Regions from separate parts of the Homo sapiens genome. Here regions 2, 3, 4, 5, 6 and 7 are each linked to region 1. Evidence: promoter capture Hi-C in 16 types of primary human blood cells and fetal thymus (Javierre and others, 2016). All regions are on one chromosome and are shown on one strand. The core of a region is centred on a gene start or on the middle of the fragment in contact, and the rest is flanking DNA. Distances in the headings are between cores, read along the strand shown.

Region 1 (2,981 bases), core at 352-2,851:
ATAATAATCTGATCAGGTCTGCCAGGGTCATGTTTCATTAATCTAATCAATGTTGATAAATGAAATTTTTATTCATTCTCTTTAGGACACAAGTAGATTTTTCTAAATGTTCATATGGACTTTAAATGATATTTCTATGTTATCATACGCTAAAACATTGATGCCTAGCCTAGTGCCTAAGACATTACAGAGCTCAATAAATATGTGTTGAATGATGAACTATCAACTTTTTGGTCACTATGGGCTTCCTAATTCAATGATTAAGTGAGTTTGATATGCTCTGGCTTGTGAAGATGAACTAAAAAGTGTCAGAGGCTGTGCCCTTTTCCCTTCATAGTAGAGCAGAACCTCTATCCCCAGCACTCACGTCCACTCGGTTACATGTATGCCTCAGTGTCCCCACCAGCCAAACAACAGCAGCCAAGCGTTGCCTTTCATCCACTTGGGCAAGATACTTCAATACCATATCTGGTTTTTAAGGCACTCAGGAAAAAAAAAAATCAATCAAATAAATACTTCTGTGCTTGTGCTTGTACTGCAGCAGTCTGTTCCTCCTGCATTTGGGAAAAAACAGAATTGTATTTTTAAGCATTCCTTAGACTTCGGCTAATTATATCCTACCAAGTGCTGAATTGCCTTACACTAGGAACGTGAAGTCAATAAGGGCCAAGAAAAGTCCGCAGGAGTTGGGGAACAGAAGAGTGGAGCTAGACAATAATATTAAGAAAATAGTCACCTTCATACAGGAATTCCTCAAGCACATGGAGTATGTAAAAAGCATACTTTCTTTTTTATTTATACTCCTCCCTCAACTCCACCCCAACTTCAATAAAAAAGAAATATAAATATACACTTAATGTTGAACAATCATGGAAGACAGACTTTCCCTCTCCAGAAGTGTCCTAGCATGTTATCTACTCCTGAGTCTTGAACTTCAACAAAACAAAGAATCTCTGAGTTTTGAGCTAAAATATGCTTTACTGAAGGTAGGTACAAAAACATTCAGACCACTAACGGCTGATCCAGAACCAGTTTATGACTCACAGATGTTGATTTACTGGTATAAATGTAAGATTTAGAAAAAAAAAAAAAAAAAAAAAAGCCCTCAATTAACAACAACCTGTCTGAGCTGCATTTGTGGTCTCATTTTTCTCTGAGAAAAGGCAACAGTCTCTGTCATACACAGAAACAAGCTTTGAAAGCTTACTTCTAAGGCAAGTGGTTTCTATGTGAGAAGTTTAGTCATTAAAAGTCACACTAGGGAAGAAAAATGCCTGGCACTTCAATATCTACATTATCAAGCAGCAATAAAATGGAAAATTAGAGATAGGAAGGAAAATTAAAATAACTCTCTTAATTAAACTTGGATGCCAAAAAGCCTTAGGGTCAGTTAAGGGACCCAAGCCAGGGGACTCAGATGGTACTGTTGCTGACTGCAGGCTGGCTCTGTGACCTCACCAAAGCCACTTAACCTTTTTGTGTCACAACCTCATCTCTGTTTCAGGGAATAAAATCAGCCCTAGCTCTCCCTAGAATGGAACACAGACTCATTGGCTATTGTTTAGAAGGCACAATAAACAATGAGGGTAGGAGGAGCTGCAGTCAGGAGGGAAGAAGGGAGGGTGGGGTGGGGTTGGGGGAGAGGGGAGGACTTGGGAGCCTGTTTGCCCTGGAAAGCTCAATATAAGAAAACAAAGAGGATAGTAGTGTGGGCTTTGGAATAAGACTCAGGTTCAAATTCTTACTCTACCAACTAGCCAGCTGAATTGCCACAGGTAAGTCATTTAAACAATCCCGAACCTCAGTTCCTCCATGTTTCAACTAGGGATAATAGCAGCACACACCTTTTAAGGCTATTTGAATGATTAAATGAGATAATGTATGCAAAGAATTTAGCACAGTGTCTAGGTGAGAATTAGTATTTGATTATTGTTATTAAGATCTAGTATACGGTAGAATATGTGGGAAATCACATTAAATGTCTGTCTACAGCCATCTCTTTGCAGAATAGCTTGGATGCTCAATTTTCCTGAACGATCTCCAGCGAGAGATAGAACAACTATCACCACATTTCATTTAAAAATCTCTTCAAGACCCTTCCTCAGTTCTTAAACTGGCAACCTGCCCAGCATCAGCCTCACTTGAGAAATTCGAGAACTACCTGATTGGAGAAGAGAACTAGATTTATATTTGTTTTGAGTCACAGAAAAGTGACAGTTTAAATTCTGAAAGAAGATCACATTTGTAGTGCCTCTTTGGAGACAAAACCTTAGGTCTTGGATTTGTCACATGTTAGAGCTCAATGGGAGTTTATCAGTGCTCTCCAAGTCCAGCACTCCTATTTACCAGAGGTGAAAAATGAGTGTGAGTGAGGAAATTATTATTTCCAGGGCCACACAATCTAAAAAAGTCAGTGTCAGTACTAGAACCAGATGCCCTGATAGCAGTTCTCTCCCTGGCATCTCCTTGCATTTACTTTGCATTTCACTTTGGCAGGAGAAGTACCAGACACCCTTGAGACACAAGACAGGATACAATGGACATGGGAGTAGATAGATGAGCAGACTCAATTTCTAGAAATCCAACTTCTCTACACTGGATGTATTGTCTTTGGGCAAATACATTGCAGGATAACCACACTATGGTTCCCTGTGGGAGACAGCTTGGCATGGGCTGTCAGGAGAGAAAGGGCCTGGGTTGGCTCTATTGCTGTCTGCAGTTTCTTTAGACTATAATTATGAACCATTCAACTGCATCTGCAGCCCCAACAATGTGGGGTGGATTGGCCTAATCCACAGACCAAGCGACATTTTAAAATCCAGCAGTTTAGACACGTATTCCTCTTGCAGCAAATCAAACATGGCTCAGACAGGAAGAGGTAAGGAGCTGCCCAAGGTTAGAGGGTTCTGAGGTCTCATCCACACTCAGTGTTGTGTGCTTCCCTGAAGCAGGCTGAGCATGTTGCCTGGAATTGCTGCAAA
Region 2 (2,981 bases), core at 336-2,835, 470 kb before region 1:
GCTAAAGAGATAAATGGTGTGCAGGCTGAACACAATCTGGTCTTCCGGAGATGACACCACATTCACAATAATAAAACAAAGGCACTAGGAACACCAATAAGGAAAAATCACCCAGAAGTGAAAGTGTGAATCAGTAACATAAAATGTAAGCCATAAAGATGAAGCTCCAACCGTCCTGAAGACGTGGGCATTGAACATAGGCCAACAAAGATCTTTAGCTCGTGCTTTGGAGAGAAAGAAGTTAAAAATGAAATTATGAAAATAAATAAAATAACAAAAACTAACAACAACAATAAAATAGCAGGTGACTTTATAAAGTACCTACTACTTTTCTAACTACTTTGCATATATCCACTAGTAATGGGATTATAATGACCCTTTAATGTAGGTGCCATTATTATGAGAAAACTGAGGCATAGAGAAGTTAAGTAATGACTTGCGCAAGGTCACACTACTATAACAGCAAAACCTGGATATAAACTCAGACGTTTTGCCTTCAAAGTCTATATATTCCTGACCACTGTGATATACTACCATTGCAAATTAAAACTTGGGGCTTTAAAAATGATCAAGAATCATATTCAGGCATATGTTAAAAGAAAAACTTCAGGCAAATTAAATTTAAAAGAATTTACATGAGCAAAAAATGATTCAGGCGTCAGGCAACTCTAAGAATCAGAAGAGGTTCAGAGAGCTTTTTTTTTTTTTAGGAGAGTGAGCAGCGAGCTTTTATTGGCAGACACAGAAGTAAAGTAGAAGAATCATTTTATTGGCCACAGCTAAGATGTCTGCCTTATTTGAGTACGGTATGATGAGTTGACTGCCTGTGACTGGCTGAAACACTTCTGTTTATTATACTCCTAAGTTAGGTTTAAGTGCTAAGTTAGGTTGTACTTTGCTACGTAGGAACTCAAAGTATGGAGACAGACTCAGGCTAGTGGCCTCCAGCTTATTTAATTTAACCTATAGAACTTCAGAGTTTATGAAGCATTTATATTCACGATCCCATTATTCCTTTTATCACCATGAGAGAGGCAGTGCAGAAAGCAGGGTTTCCCTTCCACAGAAGAGATGACTGGTGCCCAGGGAGGACTCAGTGTCTGATCCATGTCCCAGTGAGTGACAGGTCTTTTTGGCCTAAATCTTTGTCTTTTTTTTCCCCAAATCCTATGACCTTTCAACAACATAGAGTTGACTCAACTAGAAAGCAAGTAAGATTGACCAGCTGGTTTCTGATGTCAGGTTCCTTGATAAATACAAATATTTTCCACCAACAAGTGAGACTAATGCTATGTCTCAGTAAAATAGTAAAAGGAACTCACAAAATAGTTTCTGCAGATTCATGCACACAGGGTGTGTGTGTGTGTGTGTGTGTGTGTGTGTGTGTGTGTGTAGTTTTGGTAGTAACAAGGGCAAAAGAAAATAAAAGTAAAAAACACTACTTGCTTCCCCTCAAACATGTGAGGAATAGCAGGCCTCATATATGTATTCTGAATGTCTGAATGCACTATAATAAAAGACTTTTGATCCAGTGAACAAAGAGATCGGTTTTGTTTTGGCTTTTTTTTTTCTTTTCCTGTGAGGGTGCTGTGGGGCAGGTGATGGTGAACAGGAACATGAATCAGAAAAGAAGCAAGAGTCCAAAAGGCAGTGATGGGGTCTCACAAGTTGAAAGTGGGAAGAAGAAAAAAACAAATTATTGTATTTCTTTATTCATTTCTCAACAGACTTTTTTAGTTGTTTCTTCATCTTAGCTGTTTTGAATGATGCTGCCGTGAGCATGGAGGGCAGCTGTCTCTTCAAAACTCTTCTTTCATTTCCTTGGGGGGAAACATAAAAGAAGAGAATCACGTTCTTGGAAATCAGACGGATGAGTGTGCAAAAGAGAACAGGAAAGAACCAAAATAAGGATGAAATACTTTGGAGAAGAGAAGAATGAAATCCATGAGAAACAAAAGCAAAAGTGACAAACAGGGAAGAGTGCTGAGTTCATAGGAAATTTATGTTTTCTTTCTGGAAATTTTAAGTGGCTTGCATGATTGTGAGGTAAGAGTTCTCAATAAGTTAAATACATTTTAAAATAAAAATTTAAAAGGCTATCAAATGTGATGATTTATGTGAAAATATTCTCCAAAATTATAAAATGCTGTTGAGGAGCTAGATATTATTGTTGCTATTACCATTGATGACATTTTCTGTGGTGTCATTCCTGGCAGGCCACCAAGTGATTTTACTCAGCTCCATCATATTTGGGGGCTATGGTTCCATGTTAGATAAAATCACCTGTCCTTCCACTCCTCTGAATACAGTCGAATGGATATTATCTACTGATGTCAACTACAATCTTATAATAAAAGAAATAGTGAGCTATTTTCCACTTTTATTTAATATGGAATATGAGAAAATGATCATAAATTACAGCAAGAGTGATTTAGGTTCAGAATGGCAAAAAGAATATTTTCTTGCTGTTTATGCATGGAAACCGATTACTCGGGAAATAGAACTATCTCTTTCCCAGCGATAACAAGAAATTGTTTCCTGCTTATTTTCAGTTGTTTAGAAGAGGGCACTTGGAGGTGGACTGGGCTGCTGAAGGGGGTCATTTTGAGAGACCTGTTGAAATCCTCAAGCTGTATTATATAAATACAAGATGTGCTATTGAGATGTGCTATTAAGCTAGACACCTACCAGTGCTTCAATCCTATGCATCCTCAAGTAGCCTTCAACAGTTAATACAAGTTTTAAAATACCTTTAGTTCTGAAAATTGTTGAAAACGTTGAGAGTGAAAACATTGAAAAATCTCAAGTATTTCAGGTAATAAAGAAATCATTACTGGATTTTTCTGTTTTCAATTGCTATTTCATTTATTTTCCTCACTCAAAACATTCTTTGCCCAGGCTGATGCAACTTAGTTTGCTTTATTCACCCAAAATATAGGACTTGATGTTTCCTTCCTTATACAACTTCCTACTCAAATCCC
Region 3 (2,981 bases), core at 226-2,725, 460 kb before region 1:
TGGGCCATTTCAGCCATAGCTAGAGTGGCTGGGACACAGGGCACCAAGACTCTGGGCTGCACACAGCACAGGGACTCTGGGCCTGGCCCATGAAGCCATTTTCTCTGAGGCCTCTGGGCCTATGATGGGAGGGGCTGCTGTAAAGACCTCTGACATGCCCTGGAGACACTTTCCCCATTGTCTTGGTGATTAACATTCGGCTTCTCGTCACTTAAGGAAATTTCTGCAACTGGCTTGAATTTATCCTCATAAGATGGGGTTTTCTTTTCTATCACATTGTCAGGATGCAATTTTTTGAACTTTTATGCTCTGCTTCCCTTATAAAACGGAAGGTCTTTAACAGCACCCAAGTCACCTCTTGAGTTCTTTGTTGTTTCGAAATTTCTTCCACCAGATACTCTAAATCATCTCTCTCAAGTTCAAAGTTCCACAAATCTCTAGAGCAGGAGAAAAATGCCAACAGTCTCTTTGCTAAAACATAAGTCACCTTTGCTCCAGTTCCCAACAAGTTCCTCATCTCCATCTGAGACAACCTCAGCCTAGATTTCATTGTCCATATCATTATCAGCATTTTGGTCAAAGCCATTCAACAAGTCTCTAGGTAGCTCCAAATTTTCCCACATTTTTCTGTCTTCCGAGCCCTCTAAACTGTTCCAACCTCTGCCTGTTACCCAGTTGCAAAGTTGCTTCCACATTTTTGGGTATCTTTTCAGCAGCACACCACCCTACTGGTACCAATTTGCTGTATTAGTCTGTTTTCAGGCTGCTGATAAAGACATACCCAAGACTGGGCAATTTACAAAAGAAAGAGGTTTAATTGGACTTACAGTTCCACGTGGCTGGGGAAGCCTCACAATCATGGCAGAAGGTGAAAGGCACTTATCACATGGTGACAGACAAAAGAAGGGAGCTTGTGCAGGGAAACTCCCCCTTATATAATCAGCAGGTCTCATGAGACTTATTCACTATCATGAGAACAGCACAGGAAAGACCTGAACCCATGATTCAATTACCCAGGTCCCTCCCACAACACGTGGGAATTCGAGATGAGATTTGGGTGGGGACAGAGCCAAACCATATCATGGGATAATTGTATAACTATAAATTTACTAAAACTGACCTAATTGTTCTCTCAAAACGGGTAAATTTTATGGTGTGTAAAAATACCTCAATAAAGCTGATTTAAAAAAACGAAATCAAAAAACATAAGCCTTCTTCTAAACTTCCTAAACCAGAAATCTCTGGCACTATTTTTTTTAATGTGGAAAAATACACCTAACATAAAATTTTCCATTTCTATCATTTTAAGTACACAGCTCAGTGGCATTTAGCCCATTCATATTATTATGGAATCATGATGATTATACATCTCCAGGATATTTTTAGCATTTCAAACGAAATTCTGTACTGATTAGACAATAATCCCAAATTTCCTGCTGCCCTAGCTCTTGGCAGCCATTCTACTTCTATCTCTAAGAATTTGACTACTCTAGGTACATTATGTAAGTGAAACCATACAGTGTTTGTCTTCTGGTGTCTGGTTGTTTCACGCAGCATAATGCCTTCTGGGTTCATCAATGTTGTGGCATGTGTCAGAATTTCCTTCCTTTAATGGAATGATTTTTGATTCCATTGTATATATTTACATTTCATGTATCCATGCATCTGGCAATGAACATTTGGGTTGTTTCTACCCTTTGCTTATTGTGAATAGTGCTGCTAAGAGCATTGTTGTACCTTGGTACTGTTTTTATAACTTGTATTTTTTCTTTGGGGGGAAGGGAATCAATGGCTTTAATTATATTTTCAAAGGGGTTTGCGATACAAAATTCTAGCTGTGTAACTGACTATAGTAGACATAAATAAATAAAGGCTTCATGCCTTCATTTCCTGGCTGAGGGATCAGTCTAGCAATTCAGAATGGATCATGTATGTACTATATCAAATACTTATCATATATTTACTAGAATTAAGCAACAACACATAGATAATGATGATCATCCTACAGTACTTCAACATGTACCAGGCTCTATACTAGGCACTTTTTATCCCTTATAACATTTAGTTCTTAGGATACACTTCTCATCCTCACTTTTGAGGCAATGGGGAGTTCAATAATTTACGCAAAGTCAGTAGAGATTTCTTAGTCAAATTCAGCTCTTTCTAGCCCAAAGGTTATGTTCACAACCACTTTGCAATACTGTCTCTGGAGAGAGATTCCATCGACTCACTTGAATAGTTTGAAAATGGCTATAAGTTGGCAATGCATTTTAGGAAAGACTGGTGCTTTGATTCAAGAAACAAAGCAAACACTCCTCACACTTTAGAGTATAATTAGCAGAATCTAATAGCTAATAGGAAGGCTAAGAACTCAAGCAGTGATTATGTTTTAGATCTGATTTGGGATTCTCTTGTGCAAACATTAAGCCTTTTGGAATCAATCCAGTTCTATTTAAACTAAATCTTCTTAAACTTCTTTGTATTTTCTTGCCCACATCTGGAGCAGACAGAAAAGACCACTTTACCACAGCAACAAAGCCTGCATGGTCTTTGGCCATCACTCCTTTCTTAGTAATTCTCTCTCAGTGAATCCTAGGCAGGTGTCAGGAGAGGGGATATAAGAATATGCATGTTTCCGTCCCTAATTCAAAGCAGGCTTTCCCACCAAAATATTCACAATGGCCTGGAAGCAAGTCAGGCAGTTCTTTCACAGAGATTTTGCTCAGATGCCTCCTATTAAAATGGAGACACCTGCATTTCCAGGCATTGTTGTCTGTTGCTTCATTTTCTATTAATACAGACTTTGGAGACAAACACTAAGAAAGAAAATACCACTCAAGTATTGAGCTTTGCCCACAAATCTGATCAAAAGGCAATTTGGAAAGTAGAGCAGAACAGGGATTGAATAGATATGATTGATGAAAGTAACATGGGTCACCGTGGGTCTTTCTAAACTGCGGTAGATTTGCATGCCATTGTAC
Region 4 (2,981 bases), core at 133-2,632, 440 kb before region 1:
CAACTTTGTCGAAAACCAATTAGATATAAATATGAAGCTTTATTTCTGGACTCTTTATTCAATTCCAGTGATCCATTTATGTAATATTGCACCAATACTACCAATAGTAACTGTGTCTTCGTTACTATGGCATTATATTGAATTGAAAATAAGATAAAGTTCTTCAAAGTTGTTCTTTCGACCTTCAAGATTATTCTGTTCTTATATATGCTTTGAATTCCTAAATAAATTATAAGTTTTCTTATCAAAATGCTAGTATTGGCTGGGTGCAGAGCTTCATGGCTGTAATTCTAGCACTTTGGTAGGCCTAAGGGGGCAGATCATTTGAGGTCAGGAGTTTGAGACCAGCCTGGCCAACGTGGTGAAACCCCATTGGCTCTACTAAAAACTACAAAAATTAGCTGGGTCTGGTGGCGGGTGCCTGTAATCCTAGCTACTTGGGAGGCTGAGGCGCTAGAATCACTTGAACTCAGGAGGCAGAGGTTGCAGGGAGCCAAGATCACACCATGGCACTCCAGCCTGGGTAACACTCCATCTAAAAAAAAAAGTAGTATTTTTTATTAGAATGGTGTTAAATCAATCAATATGTGCATTCTACATTATGTACCTCTTGATAATACTGTCTTCTGACCTATGAACATGATATATCAATCCACTTATATATGTCTTCTTTTATTTCTCTCAGCACTATTTTATTTTTCACCTCTTGCATGTGTTTTAAGGACTTTTTTTGGTATTAAATTTTTATGCTGATGTAAATAGAATTGCTGTTTAAAAATTCATTTTCCAATTGTTGGTTGTTGGGTGTCTTAGGGGTTTTTTGTGCTACTACAGTGGAATGCCTGAGGCTGGATAATTTATAAAATCATAATTTTTAATATAGTTCTGAAGCCTGAGAAGTCCATAATCAAGATGCCAGTATGCTTAGTGTCTAGTGAGGGCTGTTATCTCTGCTTTCAGGATGGTACCTTGTTACTGTGTCCTCTGGAGGTGAGAAAAACTGAGTCTTTAAATAGCAGAGGGACAAAAAGGAATGAACTCCCTTCACGAAGCCCTCTTATAACAGTTTTAATTTATTCATGAAGGTGTGGCACTCATGACTTAACTACCTCCCAAAAGGCCATACTATTTAATACTGTTACATTGGAGAGTTTTTTCAAGAGATGAATTTTGAATTATAAGGGACACATTCATACTATGGCATTCTTTCCCTGCCCTCCCCCACTAATGTCCTTCTCACGTGCAATGCACCTTCACTTTATCCAAATAGCCTCAAAAGTCTGTACTTGTTCCAACATCAACTCAAAAGTCTAAAATCCAGATTTCCATCTAAGTAAGTCAGAAATGGGTGAGACTCAAGGAACAATTCATCCAGAGGCAAATTTCTCTTAAACTGTGGGCCTGTGAAATGAGCAAGTTATGTACTTCTAAATACAATGGTGATACAGGCATAGAATAGACATTCCTGTTCCAAAAGGAATAAATAGGTAAGAAGGAAGAGGTAGCAGGTCCCAACTAAGTTTAAAACCTAACAGGGATAACAACATTAAATGATAAGGCTAGAGAATAGTCTTTTTGAACTCCATGTCCCACCAAGAGGACACACATGGGTGGGGATGCTCCCCTCCCCTACAGCTTCACTGACTGCAGCCCATGCCACAGCTCTCAGAGATAGTTAGGTGTCTACAGTCCTCCCAGGCAGGAGTTGCATGTTGGTGGCTCTATAGTTAACAGGCCTTGGGGATAGTTCTGACCCCACAGTTCTTCTGGACATTGTCCTAGCATGGACTGTATTTGGAGCCCCCACCTCTGCTATATAGTTCTCTGCCTCAGGAAGGCTGTCTGAGATATTCTTTGAAGTGTAAGTAGAGGCAGCCATACTTCCACAGCTTGTGTGCTCTGCATTCCACATAGATGATGCCAAAGTTTAAGGCATGTGCCCTTAAGTCACATCTCAAGTCACACCTAGGCCCACCTGCACCACAGCTAGGGTGGCCAAGAAGTAATACACTGGAATACAGAGAACAGAGAGCTAAGGTATCACAAGCACCCTAGGAACCTCTCCCCAAACTATTCTGACCCCAAGGTGAGGGAACTCTGGGCCTGTGATGCGCATGGCAGCCTGGAAGATCTTTCAAATGCCTTTAAGTTCATTCTACTACTTTCGTTATGAATAGTACATGGCTTTCTTCTATTTATACTAATCTTTTTATAAAATGATCTCATGTCTACATCCTTGATTTCCTTTCCTAAGCACACATTTTTTTTTCTTTACATGGCCAGGCTAATTTTCCAAATCTTTACAATCTGCTTCTCTTTTAATTATAAATTTTATCTTTAAATTATTTATTCCTTCTTCCCTTTTACTATAAGCAGTTGAAAGAAGCCATGCAGCATCTTAAGTGCTTTGTTGTTTAGATATTTTGCTGACAAATACACTAGTTAATCACTCTTCAGTTCTTCCTTCCACAGGGTCCTAGGTCACATATAATTCAACCAAGCTCATTGCCCCTTTTTAACAAGGATGGTTGTATCTCCAGTTTCCAATACCTTGTTCCTCATTTCCACCTAAGATCTCATCAGAATAGCCTTTACTCTCCATATTTCTACCAACATTCTTTTCATGACCACTTAAATAATGTCTAAAAAGGCAAGTTTTTCCCTATATCTCTCCTCTTCTTCTGAGCCCTTGTCAGAATTGTTCTTAATGCTCTGCTCATGGTAATACAAGCTTTTTTCTGCATGAATTTCAAAACAGTTTCACCTTCTACCCATTAACTGTTTCCAAAGCCGTTTTTATATTTTTAGGTATTTGCCATAGCAACACCCCACTCCTGGAACCAAGTTCTTTCTATGTTTTGTGATAATAAAACAGAGTACCTAAGATTAAATCATTTATAAAACCAGGAATTTATTTTCTCATAGATCTGGAGGCTGGAAAGTCCAAGATCAAAGTGTTAGTAGGTTCAATGTCTGGCAAG
Region 5 (2,981 bases), core at 168-2,667, 390 kb before region 1:
CCAATTAATCAGGCTCCATGCTTCAAACTAGGTGCTGAGCCTGTCCATGGTTGTGAAATTTTTAAATGACCCCTTTGTCCTCGGTGGTGCCAAAGTGAAATTCCTTTGGGATCACTTGCTTCTTGGCACCTGGTATCTGACCAACAAGAATGCGAGACAAAAGGTTCTTTCAAAAAAAAGAGACCAAGCTGTGCTTTTGTTTCCTCTGAAAGAAAAAGGTAATTTTACAGAAATACAGCAGGATTATCCAACTACACTATATGCCTCTGGCAGGTATCGCTCTATAAACAACTGAATCCAGTTAGACCTACAAATGTTGACTCCATTTTTTAGAATGCCAACAGAAAAGAAGGATTGTAATATTCTTAGACTTTTAGAATGGAGAGTCGAGATCAAATCTTCTTTTCTTCTACTCCCTGAATTTCTTTTGTCATATGGGGAACAATTTTTTTATTAAATGGAGAACAAAGAGATAAAATTAAATGTCTAAGATAGCACAGGAAGATACAGTTAGAATGAAAACCATGATCTCCTAATTCCCAAGCAAAGTCTTTGCACCCTAATGGACCCCCAACAGTAGAGACCTGTGAACTCTCTTCTTCCAATGCTGGAGAAACAACATTGAAATCAACCTAGAGATATAGCCTGCTTTACAAAGTTAATTTAGGATTTCCAAATACTTCATCTCAATTGCTCCTGACTACATAACTATGAAATAAATTGGACAAGTATCATAGGCATTTTATGCACAAGCAAACAGACTCAGAAATGTTAAGGAACTTGGCCTAAAGTCTCAGGAAGCTGAGTATCCTCTCCAGGTCTCCTAACTCCAAATCGATTTTGTACTAAGATGGGATGGAATTATTTCAAAAGAAACATGACAGAAGAACAGAGATTTTTTTTGTTTGTTTGTTTCTTTCTTTCTTTTTGAGACGGTGTCTCGCTCTGTCACCCAGGCTGGAGTGCAGTGGCGCGATCTCGGCTCACTGCAAGCTCTGCCTCCCGGGTTCACGCTATTCTCCTGCCTCAGCCTCCCGAGTAGCTAGGACTACAGGGGCCCGCCACCACGCCCGGCTAATATTTGTATTTTTAGTAGAGACGGGGTTTCACCGTGTTAGCCAGGATGGTCTCAATCTCCTGACCTCGTGATCTGCCCACCTTGGCCTCCTAAAGTCCTGGGATTACAGGCGTGAACCACCGCACCCGGCCAAGAACAGAGTTGTTAAATAGCTTACCTGAAGTTATACAGCCATCTCAGATTAAATAACTTTTCCCTGGAACATGAGTGATTGATAATGGAGGCCTTTTATTGCCTTTTAAAGAAAATGTCAGCATTGATGGTTGGTAATTTACCAAAGAGGGTAAAATGTGCCTAGCCTGCCACTAACTCGCTCAGTGAATGCTTTTTTGTCACTTATTGTATGCTTGAGAATTTTGCTGGACACTTTATGTACACTTAAAATTTACCTCCTTTGAACTCTATGAGTTAAGTAGGACTAATCCAATTTTTCAGAGGAGGAATTGAGGCTTTGAGAGAACAACAAAGTTTCCAAGTCATATTGCTGAAGAACCAAGGTATGCATCAAGGTAGAGCATGATGAAAGTTATTTGAGGCCTTGTAACTATTTATGGCTTTTTATGACTTGACGCAGGTCCTAGCCTCCATGCTAAGGAAAAGACAATCAATGGATTGGAATTTAAAACCCAAGTCTAACCTATTTTAATGTCTATACCCTTTCCTCTACTGGCCAATTTCTTTGCCATAAAGAGTACTATTGATCTAAAGTTTCTCTTCTGAATAGGAATAACAGGACCATTTCCAGCCCTTTGAAGATCTCTACAGACAATACATTTTCATAAAATAATAGTTATTTTCCTATTGAATCACATTGCCTTATTACTTCTACAATTTTGACTTCATTCATTTAACCTCTCTATAGACTGCACAATTTGCCTTCCCCACACGAATATTATTGTGCTATTCTAATACCTGTGGAAGTTAAAACGACACAGTCATCTATTGAATAGGGAGTTGGATCATTACAGCCCAGTTTAGAAAGTAATTTTCCCAAGACACGCTTTATTTAAAGTCAGGGAAGAAGCCTCCATTATAAATGCTTTCCACTGTAAAGGGTAATGAGTTGCCCGGAAGCTCTGATTAGCTGATTTCCCCTGTGTACTCCCTGCAATGGGCAAATCAGTGCTGACTCAGTCACTGCCTACTTGGCCTCAGTTATATGGCTCTATTTGACTTGTTCTTGGTTCACCACCTTCTTTCCCTAACTCTCTCCAGGGCAGTAGTCGCTCAACTGATTTTCTCACCCCAACAATTATCTTGATAAGTTGAGGCCTGACAGAGAGCCCAGGAAGTGCCCTGTTCCATGCCCAACAAGGACATCTTGGTGGCTCTGCGACAGCTATGTCTTGTGAATTGCATTTGTAGGATGTCGGAAATCTCTGCTATGTCTCTAGAAACATAAGCAAATAATCATTCCAAATAGACATAGGGCTAAATTTACTGAAGTGTATGCTTGGAAATACTAGCTCTTTCTGTGGTCACCTTTTGTGGTCATTATTTGACAAACAGTCCTCAGCAGGTACACAGAAAGCACTCTACTTCCTATCGCAGAGATTAGCACTGAATATTAACATAAATGATGGGAGAAATTCTATAGTAAAGAAATTCATGGCCGGGCGTGGTGGCTCACGCCTGTAATCCCAGCACTTTGGGAGGCCGAGGTGGGTGGATCACAAGGTCAGGAGATTGAGACCATCCTGGCTAACACAGTGAAACCCCGTCTCTACTAAAAATACAAAATAGCCGGGCGTGGTGGTGGATGCCTGTAGTCCCAGCTACTTGGGAGGCTGAGGCAGGAGAATGGCTTGAACCCCGGAGGCGGAGCTTGCAGTGAGCCGAGATCGCGCCACTGCACTCCAGTCTGGGCGACAGAGCGAGACTCCGTCTCAAAAAAAAAAAAAAA
Region 6 (2,981 bases), core at 145-2,644, 370 kb before region 1:
ATAATTCTTTTTCCCTTTCTGGGTCTCAATTTTGTCATCTATAAAATGATCACTCTGGTCCATTTTCCATTTGGCAGAGCTCAAACAGGCTGGAAGCCGACTATGAGGATGAAGACAGCGCCTAAACTTTCTAACACTCTTTATGGGGCCTATTTCCTAGAGTTCATGCAACTCATCTTGAGTCACAATTTATATATGTTTAGGTGATCAAACTACCTTTTATTTATATTTCCAGTTTATGAAGCATGGTTGATATGGTATTTCACTAACCCTCACAAGAACCCTAAGGTAGGTAGGTAATAATGTCCCCATTTTACAATGAGGGCACCGAGGCTAGATATGGCCCACAAACCTTCTGTAAGCAAATAAATGCAAATGCAGGGTTAGTGCTGGAACTCACATCTTCTGACTCCTTCTGTGCAGCTGAACTGTGAACTCCAGCTTGTAAAATACAATTCCTTGCTCTGTAGCCAAAACAAAACTGCATTTGGAAATCAGAATCAGAAGGTTGGTGATAGGCCGTCAAGTGTTTCACAAGTGATTAAAGGAGAATCTGGGTTCCCCATCTCTTGGGGCCTCCTATTCCTCTCTCAGATCCCTCAACACTTAGTATAAATTATCTGGCATTAGGATAGAGATCTTTTTCATTAGTGTGTCTTTGAAAAACATTAATGTACAGGAAAGAAAAATTCCTCTTCATAGGGACAAACATAATCTTATCAGAAATGAGCAGGACAATAACAGGAAGGAGAGGATTCTGGAATGTCAAAGAGAGGAGGGGCAACAGGGAAAGAAGGCAGGCTGCAGGAAAGGCCCGGAGAGGCTTTCATCAGGGGCCGGCAGCCAGGATATTATTGTGAGCTGGAAACATGGGCAGAGCCAGGCAAGGAGGAGGGCATATTGCAAAATGGCTGCCTTGCTGCCCTTGTTGACGTGCGCCCAAAGACTGCACATGGACAAAGACATATTTATGCAAAGTCCATTTTCCTTCCAATGACTTCCAGGGGAAGCTCACAGCCGCTAAGGTGATGAAGCCTGAAGCTAGAGAGAAAGGACCTTCAAAGACGTTGAGTCCCTCTCCATGGGATGGGATTCCATCTCCCATCCTGGACTTGAGACCCTGACAGCAGCATCGATTCCTTCTGTCACTAATCCAGAGACAGCGCATCCCACCGCTGCCTAGACTGCCCGGAAACTCTATCCCCTCCCTCTTGCAGCCTTCACACACCCCCGGAAGGGTCCCAACCAGACTACACCTACACCTTCCCAGACCAGCACCAGCTGTTAACAAAGTGAAATGTCCCTTTTCTTTGACTGTTAGATTTCAAATGCTGCATGGTCCAAAACTGCTTTTTCATGTCTCACCTACACTCATCACACTGTTTCAGCCTATTTACTTTATTTTGTCCATAGGGTACATAGAAAGCAGCTGGCCATCTTCCTGGGCATAATAACACTTTAGACACTTGACAGAAACAATGGAGCCACAGAAAAGACCACCCAGACATAGATATCTGTCTCCGAGGAAAAGTTGGGGGCACAGCAAATATTCTCAGGACTTGGCAACATCCGCTTCTCTCATTATGCCCTATACAAAATTACAAAAATACTCAGTTCAGACATTTGATTTTGGTCTTGAATATTCTATTTAACACAGTGTACTTGTCTTTACATATAGACATGCACATCTGTTCCTAGAATTCTTGCAGAATAACTTGCTTTCCTTGCCACTTTACTTTGGCTTTAATTGTTGTCATGAATACAGCCTTCCGTACATCTTCCCATAATGTTCTTCTTAGTTTTTTAAACTCTTTAATCATTTTCTCCCCTTAGAATTTCTGAAGTTAAATGATAAAATGGATTGGGATGTCAGTCCAAAATCTCCAATGCTCCGAAAATCTCAGACACATGTTGCCTCGGAGATGGGTCTTTGGGGGCAATTAAAAGATAATGTCAATAGGGCTGGACAATGACAAGCTAATGGTCTCCTGCTGCCAAAGAAGGGGCCTTGGAGAAACTGAGATGTTATTTTCAAAGCCAGAGCCCATTATGCTGTCACAGCACCATCCTCCGATGACCTGGCTCCTATTATGCCCAGTGATTAGAACAATAAATAAAAGAGAGGCAGTAAGGAATAAGTGCAAATTTCTGCAGCTAACCAGCAAACCAATCGAGTTAAGAGTGAGGCTCCCCAGACACATTTAGCCATCAGCATGTATGTCTGAACCACTGGCTCCAGAAATGTTACCTTTTCATCTCCATGCATGGCATTTCTTGCAACTGACATTTTAGTTTTTTCTATTAACTCCTACAACTGGATTTTATTCTTGCCAGCCAACTCCTACCTAACCTTCAACACCCAACTCAGAATGCTTTTAGGAGTCTTCTCAAACCCTGTAGCCCACAGGTACCCTCCTCTAAATCCATGTATTTTCAACCTGTTGTGGTCTTTGTTGTCATCATTAACATCCTTTATAACCCCCTTTGCATAGTGGTCCCTTTCTTTACTACTGCTTAAGTTCTCAGGAACTGGTGTTGACCCAAATGGAGTGTAAATTACCAGTCAACAGAGATTATATCGCACACATATTTGTATACCCTTAAATCCCAATATATGCCCTCAACAAACACCTCTTAAGTGGTTGGACTTTTGTGAATGTTTCTGTTTAGATTAGTCATGGTTGAAAAGGTAGAGTATGTGTCAGGCCATGATGTTTATCTCCTCCAGCAGGTGAGTAGGAAGAAATTGATGTTGCCCAGAACGTAATCATCAGAATATAAACTGAGATGGAGTGAAATCACCCTTTATGGTCTGCTGGCTCACTTCTCCTTCTTGTTTGTTGCTTGTCATAGATCCTACCCCTTTCTGAAATGGCATGACTCTATAGGAGGTCCCAGGCCTGGTATCCTGGTTATTGGCTGACTGACCAATTGCTTTCTAACTTAGTTTCAGATTTGTTTTTCTGTGAATTCAAGAAAAA
Region 7 (2,981 bases), core at 263-2,762, 350 kb before region 1:
CCTTGATGAGCTTTACTCAAGAGCCGCAACTTCACGGATCGGACAACAGAAAAGACTTCGGCAGTTACCAAATCTGAAGTACTCATTGTGCATGCTAGCAATCTGGGACTAATAAGGTTAAATTGTCTGAGACCTCAAGGTGGAAGTGACAGGTGGGTCTAGAACTCAAGTTTACCAATGACAGTCCAGTGTTATTGTCATTATCCTTTAGAATTGTTCATTTATTCATTCATCACACACTTATGAAAGTCCTATTATGTATTATATACTAAGCTTGAAGACCAAAACAAATCAGTAAGATCCCTATCTTAAAGACTCTTAGATCTAGTACATGACTTAGTATAGGTGAAGAATTTTAATATAAGACTCAGTAGATGCTATAATAAAATAATGAGCAAAACTATATAAAATCCCAGAGAAAGTTGAAACTTATTCTGTCTTGGATCTTTGGAAAATCCTAAAGAAATTTGCGAACTTTTATAGGGAGTCTTATATAATGAAGAAACGTTTACTAGGCAGAAAATGGAGGGAGAGGTAGTTCAGAAAGGGATAACAACAGAGAAATTCAAAGTAGACAGAAGTGTGAATCATGGGGGAATGGAGGAAAGTGAGATTACAGAGGGGGTTTGGGGACAGACAGTACAAGCCTGGTAGACCCATCTAGGGAATTCGGAGTCTAGGAGGCCAGAAAGAGTCATGAAGCTTTGAAAGCAGGAAAGTGACAAGTTCAAATTTGTTTTAAAGCTGCTTTGGCTACAGCATAGAAATTGAGGGCTGGGCATGGTGACTCACGCCTGTAATCCCAGCACTTTGGGAGGCCGAGGCGGGCGGATCACGAGGTCAGGAGATCGAGACCATCCTGGCTAACACGGTGAAACCCCGTCTTTACTAAAAATACAAATAATTAGTCGGACGTGGTGGCGGGCACCTGTAGTCCCAGCTACTTGGAAGACTGAGGCAGGAGAATGCCGTGAACCCAGGAGGCGGAGCTTGCAGTAAGCCAAGATCGGGCCACTGCACTCCAGCCTGGGCGACAGAGAGAGATTCCATCATCTCAAAAAAAAAAAAAAAAAAAAAAAAAGAAATTGAGCAAAAGAAAGAGAAGCTGTCGATGGGGTGGTAGCTGTATGTTCACAGACATGTGCACCATATTGCTATGCTGTTGCAGTTTTGGAAGAGCGCTTGTGCTTCTGCCACTAAGTACTCGCACAGTTTTACATTAAAAATCTCTTATTGAGAGCTTACTAGGAGCAAAACAGCAAGGAGAGTCCGGCATGGTGCGGAGATTTCCATCTTCTTGCCCAGGAAAATGTTTATAAGGAAAAAGAACTAAAGAGATTCAAAGTGAGGACAAGGCACTGTTGAAGAAATTAGAATGGCTTTTTGGAGTAAATAAAATTTGGCATGGAGGGGTGATGGATATACAGGACTTTTGTAAGTAGAAGAGATTGACTGCTCTGACCAAAATGTCTTCCCTAACGCGCCCACTAAAATGCAAGCTAAAAATTGAGATTAGGGCCAGGCGCGGTGGCTCACACCTATAATCCCAGCACTTTGGGAGGCCGAGGCTGGCGGATCACAAGGTCAGGAGATCAAGACGATCCTTGCTAACACGGTGAAACCCCGTCTCTACTAAAAATACAAAAAATTAGCCGGGCGTGGTGGCGGGTGCCTATAATCCCAGCTACTCAGGATGCTGAGGCAGGAGAATCACTTGAATCCAGGAGGCGGAGCTTGCAGTGAGGCAAGATCGCGCCACTGCACTCCAACCTGGTGCCCCAGCGAGACTCCGTCTCAAAAAAAAAAAAATATATATATATATATATGTAGAAATTAGAGTGTCTATTTCTAACTTCTCTTCACTATTTCCTTCTTAGAAGTCAGAATGAAAGAAGTGCTCTAACAGTGTCGTCAACCTCGATTAAGCCTCAATCAAGCCAAAATTTGTGCTTGAAAAACCTAAAGAGGAGAACTACCACTGTTTATTTTTGTTACATGATGGCAAACAGTATGAGTCATGTTTCCATGGAATTGACTAGCTGCAGGGGCAGGTAGAAACTCAGCCAAAACAATAGAGTTAGAATTCTAAGGCTTTGGCGTGCACTCAACCTGACTGTAGATAATTCAGCTAATTTTTCCTTCAAGGTTTCCAACCATAAGCCCCTAGGAATAAAGCACTATCTGATTGTCTCTGGCCATTTTAAAGTTCGCACCAACAGGTTGGTCTAGATAGGCTTATTTTATTTTGAAACTAAGCCCAAGTCCAGTTTGAGTTAATGTCAGAAATATAACCCAAATCATTAATCAGTCAATCTATTTATCAAAGCTTGCCCCATCTGTAAATAATTAGTTGCAGCCCATTTTACACTGTGGGTAAATAAAGTGTTTCTATTGCTCTCTTGGTATTGTTTCTGAAAAGCCATTGTTGTCACCTCTTATATATGGCCATGAGCAAGCTCTCAACAGCATAACTGGAAGACCAAAGAAAGAAATTAACTGAGCCATCCTGCATTAGTAAGGAAGGTGCTGATAGATAGCAGCAAAATCAAACAAGTTAGGAGTGGACCAGACAAGAGGGCCTTCTCTTTCAGTTACGAATGCATCTGGCCTGTGTCCATGGCTAGATCATATATCTGACAATATCCTCCCTTTTAATGCTTTGCAGATCCAAGGTATAGTATCATACCCTAAGACTGAACTCTCCAGGGAAATTATGTCAAGCCATAGCCAAGAAAGTAGGATTGTAAAAATCACCCCAGGAACCAGCTGCCTGGATTTCACCTTCAGAAAACAAGGGAGAACATGGGCCAAAAGGTGGCGCTGTGAGACTGAGAATAATGCCCGATGCTGCACTTTAGTCTCAAGTCTCTGAAAATATGCTCAGCACTTACCCCAGGGGGAAAAAAAAAAAAATAGAAGTTAGCTTTATTTTTAGAATTTATCTCTGTGCACTCAGGATGGACTTAAGATTCCCATAAACT

Evidence for each region. The method cuts DNA at HindIII sites, captures the fragments that hold promoters and counts their contacts. A CHiCAGO score of 5 or more calls a contact.
Region 2: a fragment that was not itself captured here is called in contact with the fragment with the promoter of ETS1-AS1 in region 1 in 8 of 17 cell types (total CD8 T cells, naive CD8 T cells, activated CD4 T cells and 5 more); the score reaches 29.6 in total CD8 T cells.
Region 3: a contact is called between a fragment that was not itself captured here and the fragment with the promoter of ETS1-AS1 in region 1, in 4 of 17 cell types (total CD8 T cells, naive CD4 T cells, non-activated CD4 T cells and 1 more). The highest score is 6.3, in total CD8 T cells.
Region 4: a fragment that was not itself captured here is called in contact with the fragment with the promoter of ETS1-AS1 in region 1 in 6 of 17 cell types (naive CD8 T cells, total CD8 T cells, naive CD4 T cells and 3 more); the score reaches 12.6 in naive CD8 T cells.
Region 5: a fragment that was not itself captured here is called in contact with the fragment with the promoter of ETS1-AS1 in region 1 in 6 of 17 cell types (naive CD8 T cells, total CD8 T cells, total CD4 T cells and 3 more); the score reaches 13.5 in naive CD8 T cells.
Region 6: a fragment that was not itself captured here is called in contact with the fragment with the promoter of ETS1-AS1 in region 1 in 7 of 17 cell types (activated CD4 T cells, total CD8 T cells, total CD4 T cells and 4 more); the score reaches 11.7 in activated CD4 T cells.
Region 7: a fragment that was not itself captured here is called in contact with the fragment with the promoter of ETS1-AS1 in region 1 in 13 of 17 cell types (activated CD4 T cells, total CD8 T cells, total CD4 T cells and 10 more); the score reaches 35.7 in activated CD4 T cells.

The regions. Positions count from the first base shown.
Region 1 is chr11:128,524,541-128,527,521 of GRCh38, forward strand. It overlaps ETS1-AS1 (ETS1 antisense RNA 1), which reads left to right and starts at 1,602. Exons shown (of 4, transcript NR_120581.1): 1 at 1,602-1,775; 2 at 1,993-2,878. All of the region lies in intron 3 of ETS1 (ETS proto-oncogene 1, transcription factor), which reads right to left. The HindIII fragment of the contact is 5,425 bases long and covers 1,201-2,981 here.
Region 2 is chr11:128,049,887-128,052,867 of GRCh38, forward strand. LOC107984374 (a long non-coding RNA gene) reads right to left here. Exons shown (of 2, transcript XR_001748082.2): 2 at 1,697-1,820. Among named protein-coding and RNA genes, the nearest start is that of LINC02725, 44 kb to the right of the region's middle. The HindIII fragment of the contact is 3,278 bases long and covers 1-2,981 here.
Region 3 is chr11:128,068,358-128,071,338 of GRCh38, forward strand. No RefSeq gene overlaps it. Among named protein-coding and RNA genes, the nearest start is that of LINC02725, 26 kb to the right of the region's middle. The HindIII fragment of the contact is 3,058 bases long and covers 1-2,981 here.
Region 4 is chr11:128,087,331-128,090,311 of GRCh38, forward strand. No RefSeq gene overlaps it. Among named protein-coding and RNA genes, the nearest start is that of LINC02725, 6.9 kb to the right of the region's middle. The HindIII fragment of the contact is 2,694 bases long and covers 36-2,729 here.
Region 5 is chr11:128,135,605-128,138,585 of GRCh38, forward strand. All of the region lies in intron 2 of LINC02725 (long intergenic non-protein coding RNA 2725), which reads left to right. Among named protein-coding and RNA genes, the nearest start is that of LINC02725, 41 kb to the left of the region's middle. The HindIII fragment of the contact is 4,086 bases long and covers 1-2,981 here.
Region 6 is chr11:128,153,056-128,156,036 of GRCh38, forward strand. All of the region lies in intron 2 of LINC02725 (long intergenic non-protein coding RNA 2725), which reads left to right. Among named protein-coding and RNA genes, the nearest start is that of LINC02098, 54 kb to the right of the region's middle. The HindIII fragment of the contact is 5,358 bases long and covers 1-2,981 here.
Region 7 is chr11:128,169,679-128,172,659 of GRCh38, forward strand. The region is part of intron 4 of LINC02725 (long intergenic non-protein coding RNA 2725); the gene reads left to right. Among named protein-coding and RNA genes, the nearest start is that of LINC02098, 38 kb to the right of the region's middle. The HindIII fragment of the contact is 1,624 bases long and covers 701-2,324 here.